Regions from separate parts of the Homo sapiens genome. Here all the other regions are linked to region 1. The links are contacts of gene promoters, found by promoter capture Hi-C in human tissues and cell types (Jung and others, 2019). All regions are on one chromosome and are shown on one strand. The core of a region is centred on a gene start or on the middle of the fragment in contact, and the rest is flanking DNA. Distances in the headings are between cores, read along the strand shown. Region 1 holds the start of LAMA3 (laminin subunit alpha 3). Region 2 overlaps LAMA3 (laminin subunit alpha 3). Region 3 overlaps RMC1 (regulator of MON1-CCZ1). Region 4 overlaps NPC1 (NPC intracellular cholesterol transporter 1). Region 5 overlaps LAMA3 (laminin subunit alpha 3).

The links. The method cuts DNA at HindIII sites, captures the fragments that hold promoters and counts their contacts. A contact is called where the count stands out against the background at its distance.
Region 2: a fragment that was not itself captured here is called in contact with the fragment with the promoter of LAMA3 in region 1 in 2 of the 25 tissues and cell types used here (IMR-90 fibroblasts and mesendoderm cells).
Region 3: a fragment that was not itself captured here is called in contact with the fragment with the promoter of LAMA3 in region 1 in 1 of the 25 tissues and cell types used here (IMR-90 fibroblasts).
Region 4: a contact is called between a fragment that was not itself captured here and the fragment with the promoter of LAMA3 in region 1, in 2 of the 25 tissues and cell types used here (adrenal gland and mesenchymal stem cells).
Region 5: a contact is called between a fragment that was not itself captured here and the fragment with the promoter of LAMA3 in region 1, in 3 of the 25 tissues and cell types used here (bladder, lymphoblastoid cells and mesendoderm cells).

The regions. Positions count from the first base shown.
Region 1 is chr18:23,687,156-23,691,273 of GRCh38, reverse strand. It overlaps LAMA3 (laminin subunit alpha 3), which reads right to left and starts at 1,821. Exons shown (of 75, transcript NM_198129.4): 1 at 1,297-1,821. The coding sequence starts at 1,590. RefSeq lists an enhancer at 1,913-2,462. The HindIII fragment of the contact is 10,376 bases long and covers 1-4,118 here.
Region 2 is chr18:23,882,916-23,887,033 of GRCh38, reverse strand. It overlaps LAMA3 (laminin subunit alpha 3), which reads right to left. Exons shown (of 75, transcript NM_198129.4): 41 at 2,181-2,261. Among named protein-coding and RNA genes, the nearest start is that of LINC02958, 98 kb to the left of the region's middle. The HindIII fragment of the contact is 3,535 bases long and covers 482-4,016 here.
Region 3 is chr18:23,528,828-23,532,945 of GRCh38, reverse strand. It overlaps RMC1 (regulator of MON1-CCZ1), which reads right to left. Exons shown (of 20, transcript NM_013326.5): 15 at 3,648-3,767; 16 at 3,234-3,311; 17 at 2,814-2,918; 18 at 2,649-2,717; 19 at 2,334-2,559; 20 at 1,124-1,321. The coding sequence ends at 1,242. It overlaps NPC1 (NPC intracellular cholesterol transporter 1), which reads left to right. Exons shown (of 25, transcript NM_000271.5): 25 at 662-1,504. The coding sequence ends at 744. Among named protein-coding and RNA genes, the nearest start is that of RMC1, 27 kb to the right of the region's middle. RefSeq lists an enhancer at 2,679-3,878. The HindIII fragment of the contact is 5,595 bases long and covers 1-4,118 here.
Region 4 is chr18:23,555,521-23,559,638 of GRCh38, reverse strand. NPC1 (NPC intracellular cholesterol transporter 1) reads left to right here. Exons shown (of 25, transcript NM_000271.5): 7 at 2,449-2,522; 8 at 3,026-3,396. Among named protein-coding and RNA genes, the nearest start is that of NPC1, 29 kb to the left of the region's middle. The HindIII fragment of the contact is 8,970 bases long and covers 1-4,118 here.
Region 5 is chr18:23,826,508-23,830,625 of GRCh38, reverse strand. It overlaps LAMA3 (laminin subunit alpha 3), which reads right to left. Exons shown (of 75, transcript NM_198129.4): 22 at 3,827-3,924; 23 at 3,159-3,312. Among named protein-coding and RNA genes, the nearest start is that of LAMA3, 140 kb to the right of the region's middle. The HindIII fragment of the contact is 6,884 bases long and covers 1-4,118 here.

The DNA.
Region 1 (4,118 bases), core at 572-3,071:
TACATGCATGTAGTTTATAAGTAAATAAGCACATATGGCACTAGATGTTCAACAACTTGTCATTTATGGAAGTGCATGGTCAAAAGAGTTTCTAAAACACTAATCTAGACACCCAATGATAACCTTGCTCTTTTAGAACCCAAGCTCCAAAATCGCTCCCTCTTCCCACTTCCTGTTCCTCAACAATACTTTGCAGAAGAAGGAGGCAATTTGGGCTTAGTGTCCAGGATTTGAAGTCAGGACTGGATTCAAATTCTCCTGCCCCTTTGGGAGGTCAAGACAGAAGGACAGCTTGAGGCTAAGAGTTTGAGACCAGCTTGGGCAAAATAGCCAGACTCTGTCTCTACAGAAAAATAAATAAATAAATAAATAAATAAATAAATAAATAAATAAATAAATAATTGCCAGGCCTGAGGTTGCAGTGAGCCGAGATCGCACCATTGCATTTCAGCCCCGGCGACAGTGCGAGACTCTGTCTCAAAAAAAAAAAAAAAAAATTGCCAGGCACGGGGGGGCACGCCTGTAGTCCCAGCTACGCCCAAGGCTGAGGCGGGAGGATCCCTTGAGCCCAGGAGTTCGAGGCTGCCGTGAGCCGTGATCGCACCACTGCACTCTTGCCTGGCTGAGACCTGTGAGTAAGGGCCAGGCACTGCAAGATGCTGCTTAACATGCACCGCAATGTCGTTTGCCCCGGGTGTTCGCGGTGAGGCTCGGATCTCTGAGAGCCTTTCTATCTCTGTCCGCCTAAGGTCTCATTCGCCCCCAATGACTGGATGGTGGCACTTCAGGCAGTGCAGTGAAGTGAATCTTTTCAGTAACATTAGAGTGATACCGCTGTTATAACCTAAAAATTCTCTCTTAAAATACACCACAGAAGGTAATTGCCACCGACTTCTCCGAATAAGGCCCGGGAGGTGGGGCAGGAGGCGCCCCTGAACCCTCGAGGACTCAAGCCTGGCGGGACGCTCCGTGGGTGACGGAGGCGGGAAGGGCCGAGGCGCCTGCATCTCTTAGAGCGCAGCCTCACACTTTCCCCTCCACCAGCCCGAACCTGACCACAGCCTCATGTCACCTCGCGTGCTCCCCCTCCTCGCCTCGGGCCGGTGGTGCCGGTGCGGTGCTTCCACGAGATCGCTCCTGGGTCGTGGGCCCTCGCGCGCGGGGATGGGGGCTGCCCTTCCCAGTCGCCCGGAGCCACTAGCGCGCGTGAGGAAAGGGCCCGATCCCTTCTCCGGGTGTCTGGCCGGCGCGGGAAGGAAAAGGCGCGCCCACCCCGGCTCTCTCCGAGGCCCTCACCTGGATGGTGTGGCCGCTGCCTGGGGCGGTGGGGCCCCCGACCAACTTGCAGTAGAGCTCGGGCTGGGGCCTCCCCTCGCCGGGTCCCCTCTCCCCGCAGGTGGCGGTGGCCCAAATCCTCGCCGCCTCGGCCAGGTTGAAGTAAGTCGGGTGAAGGCTGAGCCCGGCCGCGGCCCCGGGATCCCGAGCGGTCGCCCCGCAGGCTGGCAGCACCCGCAGTACCAGCAGGAGCAGCGGCGTCGGCGGCAGTACTGGCCCCAGTGCCCGACCCCGAGGCCGCGCGGCCGCCGCCATCCAGCCGCGCGGGGTCCTCCCGCCTGAGCCGTCCGCAGAGGGGCTCGGGGGCACCGCCGCTCTCCGCCTGCGCCTCCCGGACCTGCAGCGCCAGGACTAGCGCAGCCGGGGATATGGGCGGCGCCGGGGCCGCTCCCCTTGCTCCACGCGCTGGAAGCCCGCGGCGTGGGGGTGGCCTCTCAGCTCTGGAACCTGCCGCGGCTGGAGCGGGCACCAGCCGGATCAGGAACTGACAGCGCTCAGCCGCGCGCCAGCAGACGGCGTCTCTCCCGCGCGAGGCGCGCTGCAAACTTCGCGGGCGGGGAATGGGAGAGGCGTTCCCGGGCTCCCACCCAGGCGGCGGGAACGGGAGCCTGGGATCTTCGAACCCTCCAGGCGCCAGGACAGAAATTAATTAGATCGTTCTCCTCTCTGGATACTCACCGCTCAGGTCAAAGCCAGAAAAGCCACCTGTGACCTAAGAGTAAAGGAGGCTTGTAAACGAATTTGGTTGAGAGCAGAGGAAACTGCCACTACCTACAGAACTCACATCAAAGACATTTCGATTTCCCAGCCAAGTGTTGAGTCGTCAACTCCTCAACACTGTGCACCTAGGATCCCTGTGGCACTGCAGCCACAGGCTGAGCCAGGGAACTGGGAGTGGTGGAACGTACATATTTAAAAGACAGCCAATAATGCAAGTTGTAATTTGCCAACCTGGAAAGGAACCTTAGAGGAAATCCTTTAGATGCCTAATCTGCTCAATTTTACAAATAAGCTAACAGAGATTGAGTGAGGTACGCCACCTGCCATGATGGCCTCAGAACAGAGAAGACCCCCTCCCCCCACGACCCCGGACTGATGCTTGGTCTTATATGCAGAACACCCTACTAAAACAGAACCCACATAGGCCCTCGAAGAAATTAGAGGAATGCAATATTTGTACAATAAAAATTGCAAAACCTCTTTGAAAGAAATGTTAAAAGACCTAAATGAGTGGAAAAGCCTCCCATGTTCATGGATTAGGAGACAATATTGTGAAGATGGCAATATTTCCTAAAGCAACCTACAATTCAACACAATGGATTTTGATAGGGATCAAAATCCCGACTTTTTTTTTTTTCAGAAATTGACAAGCTGATCCTAAAATTCATGTGGAAATGCAAGAGACCTAGAAAATCCAAAACGATTCTGAGAAAGAATGAAGTCAGTGGACTCACGCTTCCTAGTTTTAAAACTTAATACAAAACTACAGTAATCAAGACAGTGTAGTACCGACATAACGATAAACATAGATCAATGGAATAGAATTGAGAGCTCAGAAATAAACCGTTACATTTATGGTCACTGGATTTTCAACAGGGTGCCAAGACTATTCAATGGGAAAAGAATAATATTTTTAATAAACGCTGCTGGGAAAACTGGACATCCCAAAATAATCTAGTAGGATCCCCACCTCATACTATATGCAAAAATTAACTCAAAATGGATTTAAGATCTCTAAATTTTACATTTAGAGAGCTAAACTATAAAGCTAAAACTATAAAATTCTAAGGGAAAAACACAGGAGAAAATCTTCATGACTTTGGATTAGCAATGCTGTCTTAGCTATGATATCAAAAGCGCAAGCAACAAAAGAAAAATATAAATTGGGCCGGGCACGGTGGCTCATGCCTGTAATCCTAGTACTTTGGGAGGCCGAGGTGGGTGGATCACCTGAGGTCAGGAGTTCAAGACTAGCCTGGGGAAAATGGTGAAACCCTGTATCTACTAAAAATACAAAACTTAGCCAGGCATGGTGGCATGTGCCTGTAATCCCAGCTACTCCAGAGGCCAAGGCAGGAGAATCACTTGAACCCGGGAAGCGGAGGTTGCAGTGAGCCAAGATCATGGCACTACACTCCAACCTGGGCAACAGAGCAAAAATCTGTCTCAAAACACACACACACACACACACAAAGATAAATTGAAACTTACCAAATTTTAAAACTTTTGTGCTTCCAAGGCACCCTCAAGAAAGCGAAAGATGGCCAGGCACAGTGGCTCATGCCTGTAATCCCAGCACTTTGGGAGGCCAAGATGGGTTGATCGCCTGAGGTTAGGAGTTCAAGACCAGCCTGGCCAACATGATGAAATTTTCTACTAAAAATACAAAAATTAGCTGGGCATGGTGGTGCACACCTGAAATCCCAGCTACTAGGGAGGCCGAGGCAGGAGAATCACTTGAACCCAGGAGGCAGAAGTTGCAGTGAGCTGAGATTGTGCCACTGCACTCTAGCCTGGGAAACTGAGAATCCATCTCAAAAAAAAAAAAAAAAAGAAAGTAGAAGACAATCCGCAAGATAGAAGAAAATATTTGCAAACCATATATCTAATTAGAAATTCATATCCAGAATAAACTCTTACAACTCAACCATTTTTTAAAAAGTAGTGGGCAAATATAAAAATGGTCGATAAGCATGACCATGGAAGACGCTCAACATCATTAGCCATCAGGAAAATGCAAACCAAAACCACAATGAGATACTACTTCACACACACTGGGATAG
Region 2 (4,118 bases), core at 1,000-3,499, 200 kb before region 1:
TGGAAAATGGAAAACAGAAGAACCTTCCATTACCATCTTTTGCCATAGAATTGGGCTCCTTAGCTGCTGCTCAGTGTCCCCAGTCTAAGGCAGTCCCCACCTCCTACACATGGCAAGTGTCTTCCAGCCCCTTGGGCTTTTCTGCCTTGCTTCCCCAACCTAACCTGCCTCCCACTTCCATCTTCTGGCTCCACTGGGTTCTAGTAACCCCTTGGACCTACCAAAGTCCCACCTTATCCATAAACATTTCAGATAACCCCAGTCTAGGGTGGTTATGCCTTACTTGAAATCTGGTTGAATTCATTTTCCGGTTAAACAAAAATTAGTCAAACTCTTTTAAAGTTTAAACAAAACAATGTAAATTAAAATGATACACAATTTTTCTCTATCAAATTGGCTTTTTTTTTTCTGTTGCCCAGGCTGGAATGCAGTAGTGCGATCATAGCTCACTGCAGCCTCGAACTCCTGGGTTCATATGGTTCTCCTACCTCAGCATCCCAAGTAGCTGGGACCACAGGCACACACCACCACACTTGGCTAATTAAAAAAAAAAATTATGGAGATGAGGTCTCTCTATGCTGCCCAGGTTGGTCTCTAACCTCTGGATCACATGAAATAATCCTCCCAACTTGGCCTCCCAAAGTGCTGGGATTACAAGTTTGAGCCACCATGCTTGGCCCTAATTAGCAAATATTTAAAATATTGATCCTTTCCAATATCCATTGTGGTAGGTAGTCACTCATTCTCTTTTGCTGCTGTAAGAATATAAACTTTTCTGGAGGGCAATTTTGCAAAAAGTATTAAAAGCCTGGAAAACCTATCCTCTGACCCAAAGAATCCACTTTTACAATTATACCTTGAGGATATGCATACACAAATATTAAGCTGCAAGGATTTAATTTTAGTGTTGCTTTAAATGCAGAACAGTAAAAGGATCTCCAAGACCAAGAGTAGGAGATAATGGAAACCCAGTGGAAATTTTTGGTCATTGATGTGATGTTATCAGTGAATACTTACTGATATGGAGAGATATTACTAACATAGTATTAGATAAGAAAACAAGTCAAAACAGAAAGTAAAACAGGAATCTACTTTTTTTTTTAAGGGTTCACACATTTAGAAATGATTTGTAGGAACAAACAGCCAGCTTTTTAACAGTGGCTTTCTGTAGACAAAATGATTATGAATAGGATTGTATGTGAAAGCGTTTGAGTGCACAGGGCTAGGTTGTAGGGGGGCCCTCACTGGTTCTCTGCTCGTTTGTTTTTCATCATTTTATAATAAATATGTATTGATTTTATGAGAAAGTTATTTTAAATTTTAAAATATGTAAACCATATGATTCATTTTTCATACTGTTACTTTCCCAAATATGTGTGTGCTTTCTTCTCAGCTAGGTTATAAGTATCTTTTATATCTTTCTCAGTACTTGGCAGTGTCCTATGCATAGTGGCTAATCATGAAAATTGTCCATGAATAACTAAAGCTTGGTTCTGCAGCCCTTTGTCATTAATTTTACAGTTTCCATTCCACAACATTTATTATTTTGTTTCACAAACATTACCGAACACCTATTATGTGAACAGTACCATTCTTGGAACCAGGGATTCCGAAATAAACAAGACATAGATTGTCCTGAAAGTGTTCAAAATATAGTGTGGGGATAGAGGGGTGTGTGTGGGGTGGGGGTGGGGGTGGGGGGGTGGGGGGGCTATCTAGGCTAGGGCTGTGGATATGTGTGTGTACGGAAGAGTGTAGACAGTTGTACATGTGTACAGGTAAGTAGGGATACGTTGAGGGCAGGTGTATGTGGAGATATGTGGAAGGGACATGTCGAAATAGGGGGTATGCAGAGATCATTGTGGAGGAGGGGTAGGTAGGGAGGTGTCGGGGGTTGAGGTACACAGGGGTGCGTGTTGGGGGGATGTAGGTAGAGCTACTTGTGGGTGAGTGTATGCGTTGTGCCTCATTCTCAGTTTTCTGAAACGTACAAAGCAGGAAAGAGAATGATATTAATGATTTATTAGGTGAGCAGTCTTGTATTTTTCCCAAGAGACCTTTTTCCAGGCCTCAGTCAAACTCCCAGCCCCACCCCTAGCTCTGTGCCAGCACCTGGCAGCCCCACCCACAGCCCTCCCCGCCCCCTCTGCAGGCTGAGGCGGGAGGGGCGCCCACCTTACCTTTCACACTGTGTTCCTGTGTACCCAGCTTTGCAGGAGCACCGCACGTCTCCCCCATTCACCACACAGCCAGTGGCAAAGCTTGAAAGAAGACAGAAAAAGGCCCCATCAAAAACACAGATCGATAGGATTTATGCTTATTTTTTACCACAAAGGACTGGCTTGTATTAAGTGAGCACTGAAACCCAGGGTCTGGTTACTTTGTGTGAAGAAAATTTTGCCCATCAAGACTTGGAGAGATAATGATGAATGATCTCAGCCGACACAGGGCAATTTTGGTGAACAAGGACTGAAGGCATTTATTTTATTTGTTCCTTGGGGAAGAGCATTTTTTCCCCTTAAGACAGAGCAGAGTAACTCACTTTGGAAGAGATGATTACAACAGCATTTTTCCAGGAATAACAAGGAAGGAGTAAAACAAGTCTAGGCAGAAAAAAGAACAGAGAGTTCTGATTCTTTAAAAAAAAACGTTCTCCTTGTTGATTCTAGTTCTTTTCTATCAGGCACATTGCCTTCTGGGAAGAAAAGTTGGTGGGGAGGCCAGGCCCTGGAGCCCCCTAAAGATGCACAGAGACCACTCGCCTGCCTCGGCATTTCTGTGGGCACAATCATTGCTGATTCTCACTTTTTTTTCAAACCAAGTTGTGGAATTTTGATCCCTTTTCTTTTAGCTCTAAAGTGGTGATATTTTACACTTGATTTTAGCCAAAAGGCTGAGAAGCAATAAGTGATGATATTTTAGAAGCAGCTTTAAACACACACACACACACACACACACACACACACACACACACACACACACACACCAAAGAGACCATGAAAAAGCCCTGTTGTCTGCCACTGGACATGACACTGATGACATCTGAGGGAATATCACTCCATTTGCTGGTAAGAGAATGCCTGTTTAGGAAGCCTCTCAAAAGACAGTTAGACATTGGTCAGCACTATTAATATTGCAGGAAGGAGAAATAGATACAAATAGAGTTTTACTGATAAATTCAAAGACCTACGTGTTACTTCAACTTATGGAAGCTGGAAGCTGACCTTGATGCTACTACGCTTTGCAAATGAAAATGAAAAACTTTTTCCAAGCACCCCAGTGGAAATCTCGCTGCTTTCTACTTTTGCCAGCTTCTCTTCAAACAAGTCTGGGCAAGCTCATGTGATTGATCCCTTGACAAATAAAGCTGCAGGATGGGGCGGGCTTCACGAGCATCAAAGACATAGACAGCAAAGCAGGGTGAGCATTCCAAATAGGTCTCTCCAGAGAAGCCACACTTGGCACATGACTTCTGGTGATGTTAGGACTTGGCCCATGTGTCTGTTAAGGGCTGATATAGGCCTGCCTTTGTGATCCACACTTGTTTCTGAGTCTATGTACTAGTGAGATGTTCTCAGTATCTTCTTGATTTTCAGAACAACTCTTGCTTCACTTAGTTTGTTACATCATTCTTTGCTTGGGCCCACAGTGAACCCTTTGTGATGAGTAAGGATATGACAAAGTGCCACACTTAAGGAGAGAGGGGGTTACCTTGAAAACACAGTGGTGGATTCCTACCTATGTAGTCTATTGGTCACTCTGGAGGCTGAATGAGAGCTCAGATCACTCAGTGGCTCAGAACTGCCCCAAAATTTCCATCGCACTGAGGATAAGATCCAGATGCTTGACCACAGCCTGCAGGGTTCTGCAGGATCTGGGTCCTGGTTGCTCCACCAACCTCACCTCTGGCCCTCTTCACACTGCACTTCTGCCACTCCTGCCTTCTCACTGCCCTTGAACACATTGTCACAGGCCTTTTCCTTCTGTTTCATCCTTGTCTAGGAGCCTCGTGGCCAAAATACTGCCATGGCTTCCTCTAACTTCAGGCCTCCTTGGCCACCCCTCTAAAGCAGCCACCCCCTCACTGTCAGTGACACAGCCTATTGCAGAAAATGTCA
Region 3 (4,118 bases), core at 1,056-3,555, 160 kb after region 1:
CTTGCTGCCTTTCTTCATCTCGAGACTGTCCTTGATCCTTTTACTTCTATGGCCACTTCACCTTGCACAAAAATGACCCACGGTTGAAAGAACAATACTGATTTGCTTCATTTATAGCTTTGTCACTAAATTGAAGCACTGAAGTAGAAGATTAAGAAAATGAGGGGCTTTTTATCATCTCCGGGGGATAGAAAGTAGTTCTATTACAATCTAATATACTAGTTCCTTTTAAGAAAAAAAAAAAAAAAAAGAGATGAGCACTTTGGAAGGCTGAGACAGGAGAATCGTTTGAGACCAGCCTAGGCAACATAGTGAGGCCTCCATCTCTACAAAAATAAAATTAGCCAGGTGAAGTGGTGTGCGTCTGCAGTCCCACCTACTTGTTAGGCTGAGGCAGGAAGCTTGCTTGAGCCCAGAAGGGTGGGCTTAGGATGCAGTGAGTCGTGTTCATACCACTGCACTGCAGCCTGAGGAAGAAAGCAAAGAGCCCATCTCCAAAAGAGAGGGAGAGAGATGTGGTCTCACTCTGTTGTCCAGGCTGGTCTCAAGCAATTCTCCTGCCTCAGTCTTCCAAAGTGGGATTACAGGCGTGAGCCACTATGCCCAGCCAACTAGCTCCCTTTCTCCTGCAGAAATAAGAAAAAGTCTCTCTCTCTCATAGGGCCATCAGTAAATAAAGCCAAAAGTTGTGCCACTGAAGAGCGATACAAAGGAACAGAGCGCGAACGGCTTCTAAATTTCTAGCCCTCTCGCAGGGCATCCTGACTGAACTGTGTCTAAGGGTCGGTCGGTTTACCACTGGACGGGTGCTGCATCGGCAAGGCCAAGTTGAACACCGGATGGTGCCAACCATCGGTTGTTTGGCAGCAGCTTTGAACGTAGCGCCTGTGAACTCAGGAATGCACAGTTGACTTGGGAAGCAGTATTACTAGATCTGGAGGCAACCACAGGACACTAAACTTCTCCCAGCCTCTTCAGGAAAGAAACCTCATTCTTTGGCAAGCAGGAGGTGACACTAGATGGCTGTGAATGTGATCCGCTCACTGACACTCTGTAAAGGCCAATCAATGCACTGTCTGTCTCTCCTTTTAGGAGTAAGCCATCCCACAAGTTCTATACCATATTTTTAGTGACAGTTGAGGTTGTAGATACACTTTATAACATTTTATAGTTTAAAGAGCTTTATTAATGCAATAAATTAACTTTGTACACATTTTTATATAAAAAAACAGCAAGTGATTTCAGAATGTTGTAGGCCTCATTAGAGCTTGGTCTCCAAAAATCTGTTTGAAAAAAGCAACATGTTCTTCACAGTGTTCCCCTAGAAAGGAAGAGATTTAATTGCCAGTTAGATGTGGCATGAAATGAGGGACAAAGAAAGCATCTCGTAGGTGTGTCTACTGGGTTTTAACTTATTTTTCTTTAATAAAATACATTGTTTTCCTAAGTTTTGGGGTTACCCTATCTGCTTTGAGAGACAAATACAAAAGCTAAATGGAAGAGATTCTATCTAACCTGTCCTTATGGTAACTAAATGCCGTCTTACATTGAGCTAGAAATAGACCTAGAAGTTTCATTAGACAGCCCTGATCCTTCCCTATCCTAAAGATGATGTCTTAGGTTGTATAACTATTTGGAGATGAGAATGATCAACCAGGGCCAGGTGCGGTGGCTCAAACCTGTAATCCCAGCACTTTGGGAGGCTGAGGCAGGCGGATCATGAGGTCAGGAGTTTGAGACCAGCCTGGACAATATAGTAAAACCCCATCTCTACTAAAAATACAAAAATCAGCCGGGTGTGGTGGCACGCACCTGTAGTCCCAACTACTCAGGAGGCTGAGGCAGAAGAATCGCTTGAACCCAGCGGAGGTTGCAGTGAACCGAGATCACACCACTGCACTCCAGCCTGGGCAACGGAGCGAGACTCTGTCTCAAAAAAAAAATGAGAATGATCAACCAATGTATACTTCATAAAACTGAAACCTTAATAAGCCCCAGACCCTTTAAAACCCTTAGCCACCATTTGCCGTCTTATTCCTGGCTTTAAGAGATATTCCAAGATCTGCTATAAGAGATGGGCTGTGCCTGATCTGGGTCCTAAATGTGTCTTGACTCAAAACACACCTCCTCGGTGAGTTCCAGAGCATAATTCAGATTCTGTCAGTATACTGAATTCACTCTACTACAAATAATGGGCCAAGGGCTAGGTGGGCTGTTATCAAATTGTGTTGTTTACAAAAATGCTAACCCAGGGTCCTCGCCCACCAGCTGCCAGTGCCCTCTGCTACTCTTTGAGGCTATGGTTACCCCAAGTCTTTTCATTGCATTCTCACCTGGTGTGAAATTGGGGCTCCCTCGCAAACGCTGGTTTCGCTGTTCAAAAAAGCGGAATATTGTATAGAAAAGCATGTTGTCTTCAGTCTGCTTTGCAGCATCTAAAAATTTTCGTGCAGAAATGTTGTCATGGCCACCAATGCCCCGGATAAACCTTAAGGCAGCTAACACTTGGTGTTTGGAAAGGAGAACTTCTACTATTTCATCATTTGCTGTTGAAAGTCGCTAGCAGTAAGGGAGAGAAGTCCAGGTCAGTGCAAACAACAGGAACAGAGTTAGTTTCCATAGTCTAAAACCTCACACATCAGAGTTACCTTCAGCATGTCCAGAGATAGCTGATGAGCAGGAGGATAGAAACTCTCTAGGGATAACAGCAGACAAGCCTGAAAGACATTTTTAGACCCACTTCAGTTGGAAAGATAACGGTTAAAATTTTCCATTTTTAACCACAATGGAAGTAAAAATCTGGCAATGCATACCAAAGGTTTGGAGTCGCTGAGGACGTGGTACTGCAGGAACTGATGCAGCATATAAAAGAGGTTGTGCTGGACAAGGGTTTTGATAACAAGTTCATGTAGGTAATGCTGAGGACAAAAGTAAAAAGTGAAAGAACACTTCCAAATCATTCAGCTACAACAGACTAGAGGCTCCCCAAGGACTGGCTATTCTAACCAACACAGTAAAAGTCTGTCATTACAAGAAGTGGTTTCGTCATGCAGGTAAAGACCCCAACTTGACCTTACACTTCCCATTCCAACTAATAATGTCAGGAGTCACTCAGCATTCTGAGTCAGGGAGGCAGACCTGTCTTAGCATATGAGTCATCTTCTAAGACAGTGACTGTGTTTTTTTTTTAAATTCCTTCTGTTTTAACTTGGGCCCAGATGATTTGAAGGTACCTGTACTGCAATCTGAAACTGGTTAAGAGAACGAATGTATTCCATCAGCACGGCTATCACAAATTTATGAGGCATCTCCTAGGGAGAAAAAAATGTGGTCTTACAAATACCAACGAGGTGCAAAAGAGGCTGCATATAACTCTCTATCCAACCCCCACCTTGTTTCCATCTTAAAATGGCCCAGTGTTCATCTTTCACTGGTTTTGCACACATCGCTCCAGAACCACCCGTCAACAATTATGCTTTAGGCCTCAGCATTAGAAGCCAAACTACCAGCTCTAGGGCCTCACCCAAGGAAACTCCAGTGATTCTAATCACTTCAAGTGACTCTAATCACATGAAGTCTCCTCGTTTTCAGCAACTTCCTTGTTTTGAGCATTCTCAGTCCAGAAGAGGCGGAAAGCTGCAGCCCACCTTCTTTTCCACAAAGGCTGACAGGACATGGGTGTACACATCTGACTGGTCCAGCACCGCCTGGGTCCGCACCGGCCTCTTGAGGAGCGGGCTGCTTCGGCTCTGCCCTGCTTCCACCGCCTGAAAGAAAAAAACCACAAACTATGATCTTCGGCATCTTAGAGGAAGGGTGCTGTTTACAGTTCATCCACAAGGACTGAATTCTTCGATGTGGACCCAGGATATGAGCGGAAAACACTTTCTCTACTTAGATACAACTTTTTCCTGTGCGCATGCCTGTAATCCCAGCTACTCAGGAGGCTGAGGCAGGAGAATCCCTTGAACCCAGGAGGCAGAGGTTGCGGTGAGCCAAGATCTCACCATTGCACTCCAGCCTGGGCAATAAGAACAAAACTCCGTCTCAAAAAAAAAAAAGCAGTTCAGATCCGTGCAGATTATGCAATAGCTGTGGGGTGTAGCCTGAGAACTTGC
Region 4 (4,118 bases), core at 387-2,886, 130 kb after region 1:
AAGGCCAGGCTCAGTGGCTCACACCTGTAATCCCAGCACTTTAGGAGGCCAAGGCAGGAGAATCATGAGGTCAGGAGTCCATTGCAAACAGCCCTGGCGACAGTGCGAGACTGTGTCTCACCAAAAAAAAAAAAAAAAAAAAAAAAGTCAGAGTCAAATGAGCGAAATCAGATTCAAATCTAATTAAATGGAGTACTATAGTCCTTTTAGATATTTGCATCTTAATTTAGGACAGTACTTTTTTTACTTTTTATTTTGAAATAATTGTAGACTTAACCAAAAAGTTGCAAAATGGTAGAATTTATGTGTATCCTTAACCCAGTTTCCCCGATGATACAACTTACATAACTCATAGTACATCTAGAACTAGAAATACCATTTGACCCAGCCATCCCATTACTGGGTATATACCCAAAGGATTATAAATCATGCTGCTATAAAGACACATGCACACGTATGTTTATAGCGGCACTATTCACAATAGCAAAGACTTGGAACCAACCTAAATGTCCAACAACGATAGACTGGATTAAGAAAATGTGGCACATACACACCATGGAATACTCTGCAGCCATAAAAAATGATGAGTTCATGTCCTTTGTAGGGACTTGGATGAAACTGGAAACCATCATTCTCAGCAAAATATCGCAAGGACAAAAAACCAAACACCGCATGTTCTCACTCATAGGTGGGAATTGAACAATGAGAACACATGGACACAGGAAGGGGAACGTCACACACCGGGGACTGTTGTGGGGTGGGGGCCTGGGGGAGGGATAGCATTAGGAGATATACCTAATGCTAAATGACGAGTTAATGGGTACAACACATCAACATGGCACACGTACACATACGTAACAAACCTGCACGTTGTGCACATGCACCCTAAAACTTAAAGTATAATAATAATTAAAAAAAAAACTCATAGTACAATGATCAAAACCACGACCATGCCATTATTATTACATTATTATTAGCTAAACCAGAGATCTTAATCAGATTTCACCAGCTTTTTCTCTAATGCCCTTCCCTGTTTCAAGGTCCCATATTACATTTTTGTGTTTTATGAGTCCCCTCTAATCTGTGACAGAAAGTTCCTCAGTCTTTCCTTTTCTGGCCTTAACACTCTTGATGATACTGGTCAGGTATTTTGTAGCATGTCCTTCCATTTGGCTTTATCTGGTATTTTCTCATGATGAGATTGAAATAAGGTGTTTTGACAAGTACATCACAGAAGTCATGTTATGTCTTTCTCGGTGCATCATGTCAGGGATCCCTGATGTTGATGCGTCTCTTTCCTGGTGATGTTAACCTTGATCACTTGCTCAAGGTGATGTCTGCTGGCTATCTCCACTGTGAAGTTACTGCTTTTCCCTTCGTAATTGATAAATATCTTGGGGGAAGATGCTTTGAGACTATACTAATATTTTGTTCCTCCTGAAACTCAACCACTGATTTTAGCATTCATTGTTGGGTCTTGTCTGCAACAGTTATAACTAAGGTGTTTGCCTGATAGTGATTTTTTTCTCTTTCCCTCTCTTCCTCTGCATTTACTAACTGGACTTCTGTACAGAAAGCTATCCCTTCTCCCTCATTTATTTACTCAGTTATTTACATCATGGACTTTTAATTCTGTGGGTTGTATCCAACACTGTCATTTATCTTGTTACTCAAAGTTTTCCACTTTGGGCCATTGGGAGTGCCTTCTGGCTGGCTTCTGTGTTCTTACATACACCTCCCATCCCCAGCTTTATCTTACATATTCCCTGTCCCTGCCCTGCAAGGAGCTCTGGTTCCTTTTATTGGAGAATGGTATGTAGAAACGAAGATCTGGGCACTAGGTATGCTCATTGCTGCTGGAAAGAGTAGCATGTTTTTGTTTGTTTGTTTGTTTTTTTGAGATGGAGTCTTGCTCTGTCACCAGGCTGGAATGCAGTGGCGCGATCTCAGCTCACTGCAACCACCGCCTCCCTGGTTCAAGCAGTTCTCCTGCCTCAGCCTCCCAAGGCACGTGCCACCACACCCAGCTAACCTTTTTGTATTTTTAGTAGAGACAGGGTTTCACCATGTTGGCCAGGTTGGTCTCGATCTCTTGACCTCGTGATCCCGCCCACCTTGGCCTCCCAAAGTGCTGGGTTTACAGGCGTGAGCCACCGCGCCTAGCCCAGTAGTGTGTTTTTAAAGGACCTAAAAGTTTTAAATAAAATGAGGGCCACAAGGTGAAATTATCCTTTATTAATTGTTCTCTTAACATCTTCTTAAATTTTCTCCTGAGACTGGTGAGCAGAGGGACCCAGAGCAAGGGGACTTAGGGGAAAGAAGGCAGTAATTAGGGAGGAGGAGGCCAGGAGGAGGAAGAAAGCATTTCATGGGATTACAGGAATGTCCCAAAAACAACCTCACTGTGATGAAGTCCACTAATGCTATTTCTTCACTTCTGTTTTTCAGAAAACGGTATTTTGTCTCCGAGTACACTCCCATCGATAGCAATATAGCTTTTTCTGTTAATGCAAGTGACAAAGGTAGGCATATTTGTCCATGAATAAAAGGGTTCAGATGATGCTGTCTGTCATGAGAGCATTCGTTTCCTCAGTGGGGTTGCAGCAGTGGGTGAGGTGGTGTGCCAGTGCCGAGGACACGGCTGCGACCAAGGCAGACATGGTCCTTGCCTTTGTGGCCCTACCATCTAGTCAGGGTGGCACAGCAGAACCAAGTAATTAATCATAGCTGGGGAGGCGCGAAAGCAGCAGGACAAGAGTGGGAATAGCAGGGCAGGGTTGAACCTCACCCTTCAGAGGCTCCTGTGTCGGCATCTCCTCTGTGGGGTGGGAATAGCGCTCATTGAGGGCAGCCAACAAAGGTGGCTTTGCTGAGCAGATAGGTAGCTGAGGGCAGGGGTCTCATATGTGTCCCCAGGTGGGCTTGATTCCTGCCATGAGATAGCAACTAATGCTTTCCCTGTTCCGACTTTCAGGAACGGCTTGGCTCTTAACCTCCACCTTCCCTTCCTCTCCCGTTCTTCCAGGAGAGGCGTCCTGCTGTGACCCTGTCAGCGCAGCATTTGAGGGCTGCTTGAGGCGGCTGTTCACACGCTGGGGGTCTTTCTGCGTCCGAAACCCTGGCTGTGTCATTTTCTTCTCGCTGGTCTTCATTACTGCGTGTTCGTCAGGCCTGGTGTTTGTCCGGGTCACAACCAATCCAGTTGACCTCTGGTCAGCCCCCAGCAGCCAGGCTCGCCTGGAAAAAGAGTACTTTGACCAGCACTTTGGGCCTTTCTTCCGGACGGAGCAGCTCATCATCCGGGCCCCTCTCACTGACAAACACATTTACCAGCCATACCCTTCGGGAGCTGATGTACCCTTTGGACCTCCGCTTGACATACAGATACTGCACCAGGTAACCTGCTGTTTGAAGAAATAAGTCACTCTAGATGACCTTGTGGTTTGCTGGCTTTTACATGTTGACTACTGCTAGATGGGGATTTGGGGCTGAATGTCATGGTATATCTTGAAAATCTTAGCGTATAATGGCAAAGCTGCCTTTAAGTTAGGTTTCAAGAAAGTGAATGATGTTGAACTTAATGGAATATTTATTGTTGCTCACTTTTGTATTTACTTCAGATAGTAGACCTTGCCTTTTTCTTGAAATTGAGATGAGCAGAGAAAGAAGACTTCAGTGGCGTTTCTCTATTGAGGCAGGATATATTTATTAGGAAGTCACCTTAGGAATTTGTGAAATGTTTTCTGTTGGTAACTGAAAGTAATATGCAAGGACCCAGAGGCATGAAGCCCTTACTGCTGTCCTGGGGGCTGAGGAAGGAGCTGCCAGATTACCATCCCTGATCCAACCTGTAGGAATGAACTTATCACTCACTGCCTGAACATGGGCACCCAGCCTGTTTTTGGTGAGAGGCGCATTTGGGGCAAGATCCATCCCATTGCTCCTAGAAAGGCATGTAAACCTTCCCATTGTCCCTGTCACACTTGCCTTGGAGAACTGTACCTGTGCATAAACTGTACCGGCTTCTTTTTTAATGAATGTATAATCACATGGTTTTTCCTTTAAACATTGCTCATGTCTACAAGAAAGTCTGCAATCTTGAAAAGCATTAAAATGGT
Region 5 (4,118 bases), core at 809-3,308, 140 kb before region 1:
TTATTAAGACAGCTCTTAAATTATGAAAAACAAGAGAGAGTTTGAGAATTCAGGGAGTGTCCATCAGGCATCGAAAGCTGCCGAGAAGTTAAACCGATGAGGACTGAAACATATCCACTGGATTTAGTGACAAAGATCTCATCGGAAACCTGGCAAAATAAATTTAATGGAGTGGGAGGTGAAAGCCAGACTGAAGTGGGTTGAGGTGTGAGTAGGGCATAAAGAATTAGAAACACAGAGTGTAGACAATATTTTGGAGGAGTTTTGTTGTGAAGGGGAGGAGTATGGTGTAGTGGCTGAGCTGAGGGAGAGAGAGGAGGATTTTAATAAAAACAGGTTAGCATTTTTTAAAGATGGGTGACTTCTGGTTCAGATGGCACAGAGAATTCACATTCACTATACTCCTGCTCCAAGAGAGACCAACTCTGGATAAAACGTTTTAAAAGAACAACAAAAAGATATATTTAGAATCAAAAGTAATAGGTGATAAAACATAAGTTAAAGAAAAACCCAAAATGGCACCAGGACTGAAGTCACAAGCCTGTTGTCCTCTAGGTCTGGAAGCAGATTATTTTGGTCAGCAGTTTAGCTCATGCAGAGTTAAGAGAATAAAACATGTGCCATAGGAGACAGCGGCCAGATCGAGGCACATTTTTTGAAGACAAGGATGTTCAAATTTAAAAAGAAGCTAAAAATTGCTTCCAATCTGCCTCCTGGGTTATGGATTTATAAGAAGCTGTGTGAAGGTCAAATACTGCATGTTCTCACTTATAAATGGTAGCTAAGCAATGGGTACATATGGACATACAGAGTGTAATAACAGACACTGGAGACTATGAAAAGTGGAGGGATGGGAGGGGGTGTTGAAAAAGTACCTATTAGGTACAATGTTCACTATTTGGGTGATGGGTACACTAGAAGCCCAGACTTCACCACTATGTTATATATGCATATAAGAAACTTGTACTTGTACCCCTAAATATATAAAACTAAATAAATTTTTAAAAGAAGCTATGGAATTTGGGAACCAAAAATCAAATATGTGGCCTCATGACCAAGAACTGAGCTATGCCATTCATGGGGTCAATGTCTGAATCTCCTATCTTCAGTGTCATAACAATAGAGAAGGCACACTGTAATGCCTGCTCCTGGGCTAAGGATCCAGTGGACAGCTAAGACAATGCAAAATTAGCAGGCTGAAACAGATGCGAAAGAAGGAGAGGATAAAAACCTCTCATTCAAAATAAGCCAATATGCCTGTAAACAAAATTCAAAACACATAAATTGAATATTAAGAAAGACAGGTAACAAAATAATCAGAGATGAGTTCACTTCAGATGAGGTGAATTTTATGGAATAGTCTGAGAAAGACTTTAAATATACTGGCCCATGATCTGAAATCCCCAAACTCTGAAAAGGAAATAGGTTTTGTAACTGTTTTGGTGGCAAACCTAACCTAACCAATAATCATTTGCTGGCAAAGTCTGAACTAAACTGATATAAGTCTATGTATATAGTCAGTTAGTGTCTCCCTAGGTGTGCCTATTCATGCTTTTCACTGGAGAAATATTAACCTGTTTGATTATAGGGTATTATCCCAGACCTCACTGGAGATGTTATCTTTTTTCAAATCTTAAAAATTTTGAATTCTGAAATACACCTGGCTCCAAGGCCTTTAGGATACTAAAAAAGCTAAATGAAGAAGTAACTTCCACTTAAAAGTACATGAAGTTTTGAAACAAAAACTGGCAGAAAAGACAAGAAAAAATAAATATGATAAAGAGCCAATTGAAAAGTTTTAAAAGTATAAATTAAACTGAATCAATAAGCTGGATAATTTCTAGACCAGAGATAGTGAAATAAAATATTTCCGTATTGTAAAAGAGCCTTGAGGTCCTGCTGACTAGCTCTGTGCTATAGCTCTGGGTTAAATCAGAGGTTAGAACCTCCTAGATGAGTCATCAGCATCACTTCCTGGTGGTTGCCCCTTCTCAACGGTACCTCTTGTTGTCTAGGGAACACACACACACAAATACACACACACATACATATACCTGTATATGTACGTGTATGTGCATTTTATGTATATATGTATGTATGTACACCTATATACATGTATGTGTGTATGTGTGTATACACACATAGCATGTGTAGGGAGGGATACAGCAAACTTAGTATTAGAATGAAGTAGAGGGAAGATCATTTAGGTTTTTTATGCATATCTATATTGTTTTACTTGTTACAAGTAAATATTATTTCGTAGCATGAAAATTCAAATAAAATGAAGACTTTACTTAAGAAATATACTTAAAAACCTTTAACTGCTACCTTCAAAATGTTAGAAATGTAGTTTACAAAAATGTACACATCTAAAAGTTCAGTTACAATTAACTCCACATATATTTTCATCCCACAAATTTAATCCCCCAAATGAATATTTTCCTCAAAAGGACAAAACAGAGAATGTTACAGAGAGCAAAGAATAAAAATATAGTGGAGGAAGTCTTTCAGTGTCTTCATTTTGAAGTGTTGTGTATTCTTATTGTTATGGTTGATATCCTATAGCTCTAACTCGAATCTGAAATCAGTATGATCTTAAATTTGGTTCTGAAGTTCGAAGAACTCCTGGAAGAAAAGTAATACCAAGACCTGTAGTAACCTGTCCTCCAAGCCATGAGGTAGGTGCCAGGGGATGTAGAAGTTCCGGATTCTGAGCTCAAGGAATTCAGCTGCTACAAATTGCTTAGCCTAAGGGGTTGAACAGTCAGTGAGTGTGGTATCCTTTTAGGGTAAGCTGTGTCATTTCTGGACGCTTACTAGATTGAGTCTCATCTGTCTTTTAAGAGAAATCTTGCCCTGAATCATGTAGAACAGGATGCCCCCTTCTAAGTCCAGATAACCAAAAAGAAAGGATTCTATAGATGCCCACATCCCCTGCCATGTCTAGAAAGTGCTCAAAGAACAACCTGAACATGGCTCCATGTAGCGTACCATCCAGCCCCACCCTAAATCAGATAGTTCAGCAAATGTTGATAAACACCTCTGAGAAATTCTTCCAGGTTCCCCTGAATTTGAGAAGCAACTGTGGCCAAGTATTTTTAGCAGATACAGATGGGGAGGTAGTAATAACTTTGATAATAAATAAAAGGCTGGCCCACCTCTCTCCCGCTGAGGTCCACCATGACAGGGTGTGCAGGTGTGGGCTGCCTCACTGCCACGGGTCTTGGCTCCCCATCAAGCAGGAAGTGTCTGGCCTCACAAGCCAGGGTACAGGGGAATCTGGTCACTGGCAAATGCTGGTAGAGTAAGCAACTTCAACAACAGCAACAACAATGGAATCAATAGTTACAACTGAGAACATCAAACGGAATATCAAAGTACATCCCCAAAGACTCTCAGTCATTCAGTTCACTCATTCATTCATCATCCTTCAATAAACTCTTATTAAGTGTCTGCTACAAGAATTAAGCAATAAATTTTCATCTGCATGGGGAAGAGAAGAAACAAAGGTCCACAAACCTGGCTTCTATTTTAAGCTCTTCCTCCCACCAGATGTATGACTGACCTTGAGGGCATTGACTTGGGCATGCATCAACATTCCCACATGCTGGAGGGTGGTAGCCACTCCTAAGCCAGCTATGGTGTGCAAAGTGCTTTGTGAATCTTACTTGAAGAACACAAGTAAGACATAGAGGAAGATAACAACTAATTATCCAGAGCATCATGCTGTCGTTGTGATCCTGAGACACCTCATGAAAGCTTGCATTAAAGGCTCCTAATTTAGAGGACCCCAATGATGCGGCTGCACCTTCTGCCCCACACTGACTTTTCTTGGGGAGGTCCTGCGTAGGCACATGGTTCTGTGACTGGCAGCTGCAGTACAGAGGCTTCATAGTAGTCCCTGGGGAGCAGCACCAGGTAATCCTAGAAAATAAAGACCAAAAGGAGAATCATTCATTTTGATGGTAGCCCTACTTTGGATAGAAAATAATCAAACATACTAGTTAAATCAATAATAACCAGGTGAAGTCGCTAGTTAAACTCTCCATATCAACTGCTTTGTTCTTCATCCCGACTCACCGAAACACAAAGAACCACTCATCAAAGATTCTTTATGT